Linked DNA regions of Homo sapiens: all the other regions are linked to region 2. The links are contacts of gene promoters, found by promoter capture Hi-C in blood cells and fetal thymus (Javierre and others, 2016). All regions are on one chromosome and are shown on one strand. Each heading gives the region's core, a stretch centred on a gene start or on the middle of the fragment in contact. The rest is flanking DNA. Distances are from core to core; before and after follow the strand shown. Region 1 holds the start of SLC29A1 (solute carrier family 29 member 1 (Augustine blood group)). Region 2 has its middle 12 kb from the start of VEGFA. Region 3 holds the start of CAPN11 (calpain 11).

Region 1 (3,911 bases), core at 1-2,500, 470 kb before region 2:
GATACCAGCTCAGAGCATCTGGTGTCCCTCCAACTATGCCTTGGCCTGCTGAGGTGGGCCCCTGAAAGTAGCCACCAAATTGAGTACCTCCCTGCCTCCAGACTCCCAACACCTCTCCTGCAATTCTCCACTCCCAGGATTTCATATGGGGCTAGCCACTACCTGCAGATCTCTTGTCTTTTCTTCACAACCACCCATAAGCTAGTACTAGCACTGAATAGATGGGGCCAGCTGAGGTTCAGAGGGGTTGAGTCACTTGCCTGAAGTCACAGAGCTGGTGAGTGGAGGAGCTAGAATCCATATTAAATGTTCAAGCTCCTTTTGGAATGGAGAGAGGTATAAAAGCTGCTTCTCAGTTAGCCCTGTAGACTGGGAGGTGGGGGGAACTCTGATTCAACTAAAGGGAAAAATGAGGTGGAGACCAAGATCATTCCCAGCCTGACTTGAGTGTCAGGCAGCTCAGCCCCGCCCCATCACACACATCCTGGCATGGGGAGCTTACACAAGCAGGAGGAAAGTTGGAGGGTCTGGAGGCCACCGAGAGGAGTAGGCAAAGGGACTACCACAGGGCTGCAGAGAGACCCCTAGAGGTGTGAGGGCAGGGTTGGAGCCAGCCTTGACCTACGACTGCTCTCTCCTGGTAAGCAAAGCCGAGGACTGTTTGTCTTCACCCTCTCATATACCCTCACAGTAAATCAGTAAATGAAGACGTGCGCAGGAAGGAGACGCCAGGGATACGAGTTTAGCCAGTAAAAGACCGGGGTTAAAGAGACAGCCCCGCACCTCCGCTCGCGAGCCTGCACCTCCGCTCGCGAGCCTCCATCCCCATCCCCATCCCCATACCCCTCCGCCAGCGCAGTCAGCGGCACGGCCCCTCCCTGATACCGACCAGATCGATGGGGATCACCCGTCCACTCGCCTGCCCCTTGCGGAGGTCAACGTGACCGCAGCCTGTTTTAGGCCCGGGAGCCAGGCCGCCCCGCCCAGCTTGGGTCCCGGTCCCCGCAGGGTCCTCAGGCTCCCTGGCCCGTGCGCGCCACGTGCTGCGCGGCTCCGCACGCTCCGCACTGGGGCCCCACCCGGCGTCCCTTCTCCGGGCTGCGGAGCCGTCAGGCCCGCCCTCCCTGCCCTCCGTGGCAGGCGGGCAGCGGCGTCTTCCGCCCCGGCAGTCCCCAGTCCCCAGTCCCCGGCCCCGGGCAGCACCTGCCGCAGAAGCACTGCTCCCGCGCTGAGATCCGCGCGCTCTCGCTGCAGCTTCCCTCTCCCGCCGGGGCACATTCAAACCCGCCCTCCGCTGAGCTCGCCCCGCCCTGCGCCCACTGCCACCTCCCCGACGCCCGCGGCCCCGCCCCCGGCCCACCCCTGCCACCCCGCGGCGACTCCGCGCGCTCCGCCGCTCCCACCCCGAGCCCCTGCGCCCCCAGGGCCGCCTGGTCGTGTTATTGCGGTAGATAGGACCTCTTTGGGCCCTGCCACACCAAGGCTGTCTGTCCATCGTGTGGGGTACATGGGGCTGGAGGGTACAGCCACACATTAAGGACCTGCGCAGACTCCCATAAAATTCATCTCGGGACTGTTCCATTTACACACCCGCTGCTCAGACCGGCCCCGACGCTCCACGGCCCACTCCACCTCAGATATTCCGTTATCCCTTCCCAAGCCCTGCCCACGCCGCGCTTCCTCCACACTGCACCTTTTTCCTCCCAGCGCCCTCCCTTTCAGCGCCCCCTTCTTTCTTTCAGTCCCCCTCCTCTTCTTTTCCTTCAAAACTGCTTCTGTCCCCACCGCGCATTTTCTGTGACCAGCATGATGGGTTTTCCCATCCCTGACACATCCAGTCCCAGCCACAGACGCGCAAACACCACCCCACTCACAACTTTGACTTGGAGGGGGTATGTGCCTCTGCCTGTGCTTGCGTGTGCGCGCGGAGGGGGGTGGGGCAAAGCCCTCCAGCTCCCTCATAATTCACCCTTTCTAAATCCAGCACTTTGGAAAACTGAGGCACAGGTGGGAATGGGAAGAGAAAAAGCTAGGAACAGCCTTATATCCTCAGTGAATCCTATTGTCCCAGCCATCCTGACAGGCGGAAGCCTTGCTGAGTATGTCTTTCACTAGCTAAGGAGGAAGGTGTGGGCGTGCTGAGGGGTGGTCCAGCAAGTCCCTCCAAGGGAGGGGGAGGGAGGCCCTCTCTTTGGTCGGGCAATAAATGGGGTGGGGTGGGGGGCACTCCCTGCCCTTCCAGCAGTACTCAGTGCTAGAGGATGATCCTAAGGCTGGAAAGGTCCTGAGGAGAAAATCCAACCCACGCTGCCCACCCCATGCCCACTGACCCGAAGGGCTTGTCCCCTAGAGAAGCCACAGACACTGATTAACAACTGGCAGTACCTCACATCATAGGGATAAGGTAGTCCTACCCTGTCCCCAGAGAAACAGACAGGGCCCTAAGGAGAGAGGTGGCTTTTCTAATTAGGGTCAGTGGCTCTCCCCAAGCTACTCCAGAATGGGTGTCCCCAGCCTTCTGTTTCCATGCCCCACAGAGATGACACACATATTCCTTCCCAACCCTCCCCCACCCCACCCCCATCCCCCACATCCCCGCCAGCCCTAACCAGAGGGCAGGAAGATGGGTTTAGGTGGTATTTTTCCAGGCACAGCCCCATGACTTGAGAGTGGCTTCATGTCTGTCCACAACCCCCTAATTCCTGCCCTCATGTTTGTCCAGTCTCTCTCTCTTCCTCTCCTAGCCCTCCTCTGCCCTCTGCCTTGGCCCCCTTCCTCGCTCCCCACCCTCCTTTCCTGGTCTCTGGGTCTGTGGGGGTGGCAGGGCTAGTGGTCAGAAGATCTGCCAGGCATGGCAAGGCTGGTGGCCAGTGGCTGCAGTTGTGTACAGAGGGGGCTGGAGGTGGAAGAAAACTGGAGGGAAGTGGTGAGGGTCTCAGGCCAGACTGGGAAAGGCTGGTTCCTCTCCCCACCCAAACTGGGGCCCTGCCAGCTCGGTGGATGGCAACAGCCAGGGCTGTTATTGTTGGAGAGAAGTCCGTCTGGCATCCATCCTGCTGGGCCCCTAGCCAACACCCACACCCCTCTGTAGCCACCTCCCAAGCAGAGGTTGCTGGGTGCCAGGGCCCCCTGCTGGACAGCCTGGGAGCCCCAACTTACACAGGCCTTGCCTGGAGTTTTTCTAGCCAGGCCTTGCCAGCTCTCTTCAGTCTCTGCCTGGTCTTCTGGCTTCTCTCCCTCCCTGAGCTCCCTCAGGTCCCTGTCGAAGGGGTGGGGTGGGAAGGGTTGGTCCTGCTGCACCTCTACTCTACACCTTATTCACCACCCTATATGGGACCGTGGCTTGGCCCAGACTCCCTCCCCAACTTGGCAGGCCCCATGCATGCCTCACCACCTCACACACAGTCCTCTCTCTCCCCAGGCATGTGTCCTCTCAGCTGTCACCAACAAGTCATGTGTGTTTGCTGGAAGTGTGTTTGCTTGGCCTGGGGGTTGGTAACCAGCACATGTCTCATGACTGTCTGTGTTCTCAGTTGTGTTTGTGACTGTATCTCCATGGCCTTGTGACAGGGCTGGGACTAGGGAGAGGCCAGTGAGGCACTTGCCAGGGGTGTAAAATGTAAGGGGGAGCCAAAAAACTCATGAATCAAGATAAATTTTAGGCCAGGAGTGGTGGCTCATGCCTGAAATCTCAGCACTTTTGGAGGCCGAGGTGGGAGGATCACTTGAGCCCAGGAATTCAAGACTAGCCTGGGCAACACAGTGAGACCCCATCTCTACAAAAAAAATTAAAATAAATTAGCCAGGCATGGTGGCTCGAGCCTGTGGTTCCAGGTACTCCAGAGGCTGAGGCCGGAGGTTCACTAGAGCCCGGGAGGACAAGGCTTCAGTGAGCCATCATCCTGCCATTG
Region 2 (3,491 bases), core at 640-3,139:
GAAGAGAAGACAAAGGAGGAGAAGGTGAGCCAAGATGTCAGCTCCCAGGCACCCGCTTTGGGAGAGGGGATAGGCAGGGTGCCCCTGCCTGCGATCCAGGAGCTGAAGTGGGGGAAGGAATGTGTCAGGGGTGTGGTGGGGCTGAGAGAGGCGGGAGAATGGAATGAAAAGGCTGTCAAGTGGTGATATGAGTGTTTGTGGGAAATACCGAGAAAGACCCTTTCCTGGTGGGAGGGGATGAAAGGGAGCCTCAGCCCTGGGCTCCCCCAGCCTGACTCCAGGGACTACGGAACCATGTTGGTGCAGGGCCTGAGGCCTCCACTATGACATTAGCTTGGGCAGGGGAGCCCAGAGCCACTGTTTGAGGTGAGATAACACACACCTAGCCCTGGCCCCAGGCACTGGGGAGGGTAACAGGACAGAGATCATGAGGAGTAAGGGTGCTTGCTTCCTTCCCCCAGACTCCTGGGCTGCCCAGACCACCCCTGCTCTTCCTCTGGGTGGAAGCCCCAGACCTCCCCAGGGGCAGCAGGTAAGGCTCTAGGGAGACATCTATCCTCGCTCTACTCGTGGCCTGGCCCTGGGGCAGGTGGAATAATTCTGTGACTCATTCCACAGTTACTCCTCCTTCTCTTCCAAACCCAGGAATCTGGGAGATAAGGAAAAGGATGAGCAAGAGAATGGGTCCCCTTTCCCCATACTTTAGTCAAAAATAATGGACCATTTGAGGCAAGGCCAGTTACTTCGATGGGGGCCAGGTGAGCAGGTGTGTTGTTATGCAAATGAGCTTATGCATATGTATTATGAGGAAGGGTGGGTCTGCCCTGCTTACTCCCCTCTGGAGGCCCACACCCCAGCACCGAGTCTCCCCGCCCAGAAAGGTTTGTTAAGTGATTCCACAGCCTCTGTCCACTCTGGCCTCTCCCCCAGGCTGTCTCCACACCACCATCCTCACCTTTTTCTATGTGTCCTTCCCTACCAGGAGTTGAAGATTTCTTCCACCGTCTCCCAGGTTCTGCCTACATCAACCCCGATCACAGCCACCTTGGGACACAGCTCCTCACACTTCCTCCCCTCCTGTCCTAAAGGTCCTCAGGGATGTCTGGCTCTCTAGAACGGGGCCACAGTCCCCCAGGGCTGGCAGGGGCAGCCTCCAGGCTCCTCGAAGCTGCCCAAGAGGGAGGTAGGAGTTGGAGAGGGGCTGTCCCACTGGCCTGGCTGGGTGCGGGTTAGGGAGCCCCTTCTCTGGCCCACAGGAGGGAAGACCCGCAACACCCAGACAGAGGTGGGCGGCCTTGAACCCCCTTCTGCCTGAGACGACAGAACAACCTTGCTGGGCACCTTCCATCAGTGGGCTTCAGATGTAGCTGTTGCCCAACCGTGGCCACACTCCAGACATTCTCTGGAAGCCCAGGGCCCCCTCCTCAGTCAGGACCCCTCCCAGGTACCTCACCTAGTGCCACCCCGAGCCTCTAGAGGGCGAGGGAGAGCAGTGCTGGACTTCCCAGCCTCTGGGGCATGCCCAGGAGGCTTTCTGCACAGGCCCCTGGTCCCTGAGGAGGGGGCACCACGCCGGAGGCTGTCTATCCAGACTCACCCTCTAGGAGCAGAGAAGTATGAGGTATGAGCCAGGGCTGGGACGGGGACTGCTTGGAGGATTCAGGGACAGAAAGGTAGGCTGGACTGTGGAGGACCCTGAAGAAGGGTAGGTTTGAGTGGTGGAAATATTATCTGAGTAATATTCAGATAATATGCTGAAATACACTGTTCATTTGAGTACAGAAAGGAGAGCAATGGCTTCAGCCTCAGGAATCTCTGCCTGACCTTGGAAGAGAAAGAGACTTCTTGGCTCACATTGCAAAGCACCACTACCCTCGCCCCATCCAGGGTCAGAACTAGGGAGAGGCAAGCGAGGCAGCTAGGCGAGGACCAAATGTAAGGAGTAAGGAGCTGCTCACTCTTATAAGGGTCGTGCAGGTGCAGCGCAGGCCCTAAGAGTGAGTACCTCCTTAAACACTGCACCAGGCCCCGCCCTCTTGGGAGCCTGCCTGGGGACTAAAGCTGCAGGGACATTTAAGACAGAGTTGGGGTGAGGAGTAGGGTCACTTTTTCACACTGGACCCCTCAAAGGAAAGAACTAGCACCTAACTCAACTAAAGGAGAGTGGGGCCACAGATGAGGTGAAACAGACAACTGTCTTGGCCGCGCCTGGGCTCTGTGTGTGTGTGCCTGTCTGTGACAGTGTCTGTGCGTGTAATTTGTTCATTCAGATTGTGGATCTCCCCACTTCTAGCTATCTGTCCCTGGGCAAGTCATGCAACCTCTCTAAACCTGAGTTTCCTTGAAAACCCATGCTAATAATACCTATACAGGGTTCTTGTGAGGATTGAATGAGATAATATATGGAAAGGGTGTAGCAAGAGCACCTGGCCTGTGCATAGCAGGAACCAAACAAATGGTAGTTTCTATTCCCATTATTATTCATAATATGATTGTGTGTGGCCCCTTCTTTCCCCTGCCCCCTTACACATCCATCCCACTCCAGCCAGCCAGGTCTTCTGACAGCCCCAAGCACAGGTTGCTCATTTCTTCATCCTGGTCTATACAGTGCCAGCCGTGAAGATTTGCCTCTTAAAACATGAAGCCTTCTTAGACCACTTCTGCTCAGCAGTCTCCCCTAAACTCCTACAGCATGAGCTGTCTATACCTCTTCATCCAGCCTCAAATGCTGTCTGATGTATTTAATTTTGTAAAGGGGTGTGTGTGTGTGTGTGTGTGTGTGTGTGTGTTATCTTTCTCCAAGTGCATTCACAGAGAGAGTGTATTTTTCAGTGATCTCTTACCCCATACAAGCCTAAGGACTAATACAGGCCTGCAGGTATAGACATCCACATGTAGACTTCTTTTCTTTTTTTTTGTTTTTGTTTTTATTTTTGTTTTTTGAGACAGGGTCTTGCCCTGTTTACCAGGCTGGAGCGCAGTGGCATGATCTCAGCTTACTGCAGCTTCGACCTCCTGGGCACCTCAGCTGCCTGGGTAGCTGGGACCACAGGCATGTGCCTCTATGCCTGGCGAATTTTTGTGATTTTGTTTGTTTGTTTTGCAGAGACAAGGTTTAGCCATTTTGCCCAGGTTGGTCTCCAACCCCGGGGCTCAAGCAATCTGCCTGTGTTGGCCTCCCAAAGTGCCGGGATTACAGGTGTGAGCCACCATGCCCAGTTTACTTGTAAACTCTTTATGAATGAAAATAATAATGGTGACCGGGCGCAGGGGTTCACGCCTGTAGTCCCAGCACTTTGGGAGGCCGAGGCAGGTGGATCACCTGAGGTCAGGAGTTTGCCAGCCTGGCCAACATGGTGAAACCCTGTCTCTAATTAAAAAATACAAAAATTAGCCAGGTGTAGTGGCAGGTGCCTGTAGTCCCAGCTACTCGAGAGGCTGAGGCAGAAGAATCACTTGAAGCTGGGAGACGGAGGTTGCAGTGAGCCAAA
Region 3 (3,660 bases), core at 817-3,316, 400 kb before region 2:
ATAATAAGTAATAAAATATAACAAATACAACAATACAATAACAGTAATGTGAATGTGGTCTCTCTGTCTCAAAATATCCTGATGTTTTCAGACTGCAGTTGACAGCGGGTAACTGAAACTGCGTGGAAAGCAGGGGCTGCTGCATGTTAAAAGGCATGAATGGACAGGAAGCTTTCTGCTGCAGCTGCACATCCTGTCTCCTCCATCAGACTGAGAACCTACAGATCATTTTGTTGTTGTTGTTGTTGTTGTTTTTTGAGGTTTTTTTTGAGGCGGAGTCTCACTCTGTCGCCCAGGCTGGAGTGCAGTGGAGCGATCTTGGCTCACTGCAAGCTCCACCTTCTGGGTTCACGCTATTCTCCTGCCTCAGCCTCCCGAGTAGCTGGGACTACAGGCGCCCGCCACCACGCCTGGCTTATTTTTTGTATTTTTAGTAGAGACAGGGTTTCACCGCGTTAGCCAAGATGGTCCCGATCTCCTGACTTCGTGATCTGCCCGCCACGGCCTCCCAAAGTGCTGGGATTACAGGCGTGAGCCACTGCGCCCGGCCAGATCGTTTTTAACTAAATCAGTTTTATTTTATTGACAAAAAAAGTATATATCTGTTGTATACGACATGGTGTTTTGAAATATGTATTCACTGTGGAATGGCTCAGTTGAGCTAATTAATATCTGCATTACTGCACATACTTGTTATTTGTTTGTGGTGAGAACACTTAAAATCTACTGTCAGTGATTTTCTTTTTTTTTTGAGATGGAGTCTCGCTGTGTCGCCCAGGCTTGGGGTGCGGTGGCACGATCTCGGCTCACTGCAACCTCCACTTGCTGGGTTCAAGAGATTCTCCTGCCTCAGCCTCCCGAGTAGCTGGGATTACAGGCGCCCGCCACCACGCATGGCTAATTTTTGTATTTTAGTAGAGACACGGTTTCACTATGTTGGCCAGGCTGGTCTCGAACTCCTGACCTCAGATGATCCACCTGCCTTGGCCTCCCAGAGTGCTAGGATTACAGGCGTGAACCACTGTGCCTGGCCTCTCTCAGTGATTTTCTAAATGCAATACATTGTTATTAGGGGACTATAGATTTAAGGACAGTTTGATTTCCGGCACTGGGAAAAAACTAAGATGTTGTGTCAGGGAACTTTAAAAAAAAATAAATACTAATAAGTAATAATAATAAATAAATAAATTATATTTTGAGATGAGGTCTTGCTATGCTGACCAGGCTGGTCTTGAACTCCTGGGCTCAGGGCACTTCTGAAGAACAAGGACTGGGTTTGGGGTCACCAGCTAGGCCTAAACTTCCTAGGGTCAGGTAAACAGGGAGGGCCTGAGAAGCTGGGAGGCTGGGTCTAGGGGCCCATGGTCTCACGGTGCCCCAGGCTGAGGGTGAGGTACAGGGCTGACCTTCTGCTGGCCAAGGCTGGCTGCCCTCTGTGCACCCTAGCCCCACAGGAACAACTCAGTTCTGCCCAGCCCTCCCCTTCCCCCCAGCCCACTCTCCCCCATCTCCTGGAGTCTGGTCCCAGGCTTGCCTCAGGTAGTCCTGCCCCTGCCACCCTGAGGATCTCATCTTCCTGGGCTGAGGGACCTGCTTTTCTAGGCTTAGGAGAGGTTCTCTCTGTTCCCTAAAGTTTTCTTCTCTACGTGGGCTTTTTCACACAAACCCTTTTCCCCAGCAGCCATGACAGTGGGATGGCCGGCCCCTCTCCTCTCCCCAACTCCAACTGTCAGTGGAGAGGAGAAAGAGTTCCTGCCCGGCCTACCACCCAGTCTGACCACCAGTGGCCTATCCTTCCCCAAACAGTCTGAGAACGAGGCCCAGGTCCTGTCCTTAGGGAGCATCCAGTCTGATGGAAGAGTCACTCTCTGTACCCTCAAGGGGCATCCAGTCTGATGGAAGAGTCACTCTCTGTACCCTCAAGGGGCACCCAGTCTGATGCGGGACACAGCTCCTCCCCTGGGGGGAGGCTCTAGCCTGCAGGAGGTACAGGAGTGGGGCAAGGCCCCATGAGTGCCTACCTGGGGAGTACAGCATGCTGGTGGCTAGCTCGGTGCTTGACAGTTGAAGGTTCTGGTGGGAGGGGGAGAAGAGACCCTCCCCCCAGAACTCTCTCATTGCAGTGGGATTCCTAGGTCAGCAGCCGGTTTAACAGCTGCCTTCCCTTTTCTCCTTCTCAGTAACCCAGCCCCTTACCCAGCTGAGGGCTACCCGCTTTAGGGACAGATGACCCAGCACCCCTGCCTTGCACAGCCTCCACCAGCCTGGCTGTCCTCACTGTATCACGGTCATCCCATCAGGGTAGGTCCCAGTCCCTTTTTTTCAGCCCAAGGTTTCCAGGAAGGGGTTGTCCCTGACACACCAACCTGACCTTTACATCCAGAAAGCCTTCTCATTCCCAAAAGCCCCTTTCTCACTGACATGGCATTTTTCCTGTGTTGCTGTCTTCACATGGCACCCTCCTCTGTGTCTCTTCTTCTTATAAGGACACCAGTCATATGGGGCTAGGGTCCCATGCATTTCAGTATGACCTCATCTTAATTGAACGAATTACATCTGCAACCACCCTGTTTCCAAATGAGGTCACATTCTGAAGTACTGGGGGCCAGGACTTCAACATGCCTTTTTGGGGGACACGATTCCACCTGCAACACTCTCCTTGCCTAGCCCCAGTCTGGCAAGGTTAGGCCACTGGTCTGACCACATGTCCTGCCTCTGCACTGGAAAGTGGGAATGCTTTGAGCTAAGAACTCTGCTCCAGAGTGCAGTCTTCTCTGGAGTGTATGATGGCTGAGGACAGGGACTGTCAAGGTCATCCCAGTGCCCCTCAGCCCTGCCTGGTGCTAATCAGGCACAGAACAGGTGTGAGAGCACCCAATGGGATCAGAGAACCTTGTTCCAAGCTCTGAAACAGGAGCTGACCTTGGGCGAGCCCTCCCCCTTTCTCCTTTCTGGGACTCAATCTCCTCATCTACGAGAATATTAATTATGGTTTGTTATTATGTGCCAAACACTGGGCTAAGAACTTCCTACTTATTTAATCCTTAAAACAGCCAGAGGCCATGACATTGCTATTCCCATTTTATAGATGAGGAAAGTGAGGTCTAGAGGTATGATGCAACTTGCCCAGGGTCACACAGCTGTTAAGCGGTCGAGCCAGGATTTAAACTAATAACTTCAGATTTTTTTTTTTTTTTTTTTTTTTGAGATGGAGTCTCGCTCTTTTGCCCAGGCTGGAGTGAAGTGGTGCAATCTCAGCTCACTGCAACCTCTGCCCCCCGGGTTCAAGCGATTCTCCTGCCTCAGCCTCTCAAGTAGCTGGGATTACAGGTGCCCACCACCATGCCCAGCTAATTTTTGTATTTTTAGTAGAGACGGGGTTTCGCCATGTTGGGCAGGCTGGTCTCGAACTCCTGACCTCAGGTGATCACTCGCTTCGGCCTCCCAAAGCGCTAGGATTATAGGCATAAGCCACCGTGCCCGGCCATAACTTTAGCTCTTATCCGTATCTTCTGCTGCCCCCAGCTGTGAAAGGAGGAAGTGGTCTTTGGGGATCCTGTGGTCTCCCCTGCCCACTCCTGATTCCACTATTGCACCTCTTGGATGCCTCTAATGTGATCTGCCTGGACATGAACTCTGTGACGAGGTGCCAGGGGTAGG

What was found. The method cuts DNA at HindIII sites, captures the fragments that hold promoters and counts their contacts. A CHiCAGO score of 5 or more calls a contact.
Region 1: a contact is called between the fragment with the promoter of SLC29A1 here and a fragment that was not itself captured in region 2, in 2 of 17 cell types (erythroblasts and total CD4 T cells). The highest score is 7.5, in erythroblasts.
Region 3: a contact is called between the fragment with the promoter of CAPN11 here and a fragment that was not itself captured in region 2, in 13 of 17 cell types (naive CD8 T cells, activated CD4 T cells, naive CD4 T cells and 10 more). The highest score is 9.9, in naive CD8 T cells.

The regions. Positions count from the first base shown.
Region 1 is chr6:44,220,934-44,224,844 of GRCh38, reverse strand. It overlaps SLC29A1 (solute carrier family 29 member 1 (Augustine blood group)), which reads right to left and starts at 1,250. Exons shown (of 13, transcript NM_001372327.1): 1 at 1,204-1,250. RefSeq lists enhancers at 171-320, 563-1,421 and a silencer at 1,011-1,410. The HindIII fragment of the contact is 15,932 bases long and covers 1-3,911 here.
Region 2 is chr6:43,756,673-43,760,163 of GRCh38, reverse strand. No RefSeq gene overlaps it. Among named protein-coding and RNA genes, the nearest start is that of VEGFA, 12 kb to the left of the region's middle. RefSeq lists enhancers at 1,560-1,619, 1,235-1,771. The HindIII fragment of the contact is 9,019 bases long and covers 1-3,491 here.
Region 3 is chr6:44,157,226-44,160,885 of GRCh38, reverse strand. It overlaps CAPN11 (calpain 11), which reads right to left and starts at 2,066. Exons shown (of 23, transcript NM_007058.4): 1 at 2,022-2,066. The coding sequence starts at 2,037. It overlaps LOC107986599 (a long non-coding RNA gene), which reads left to right and starts at 2,283. Exons shown (of 3, transcript XR_002956350.2): 1 at 2,283-2,301. RefSeq lists an enhancer at 720-889. The HindIII fragment of the contact is 9,288 bases long and covers 174-3,660 here.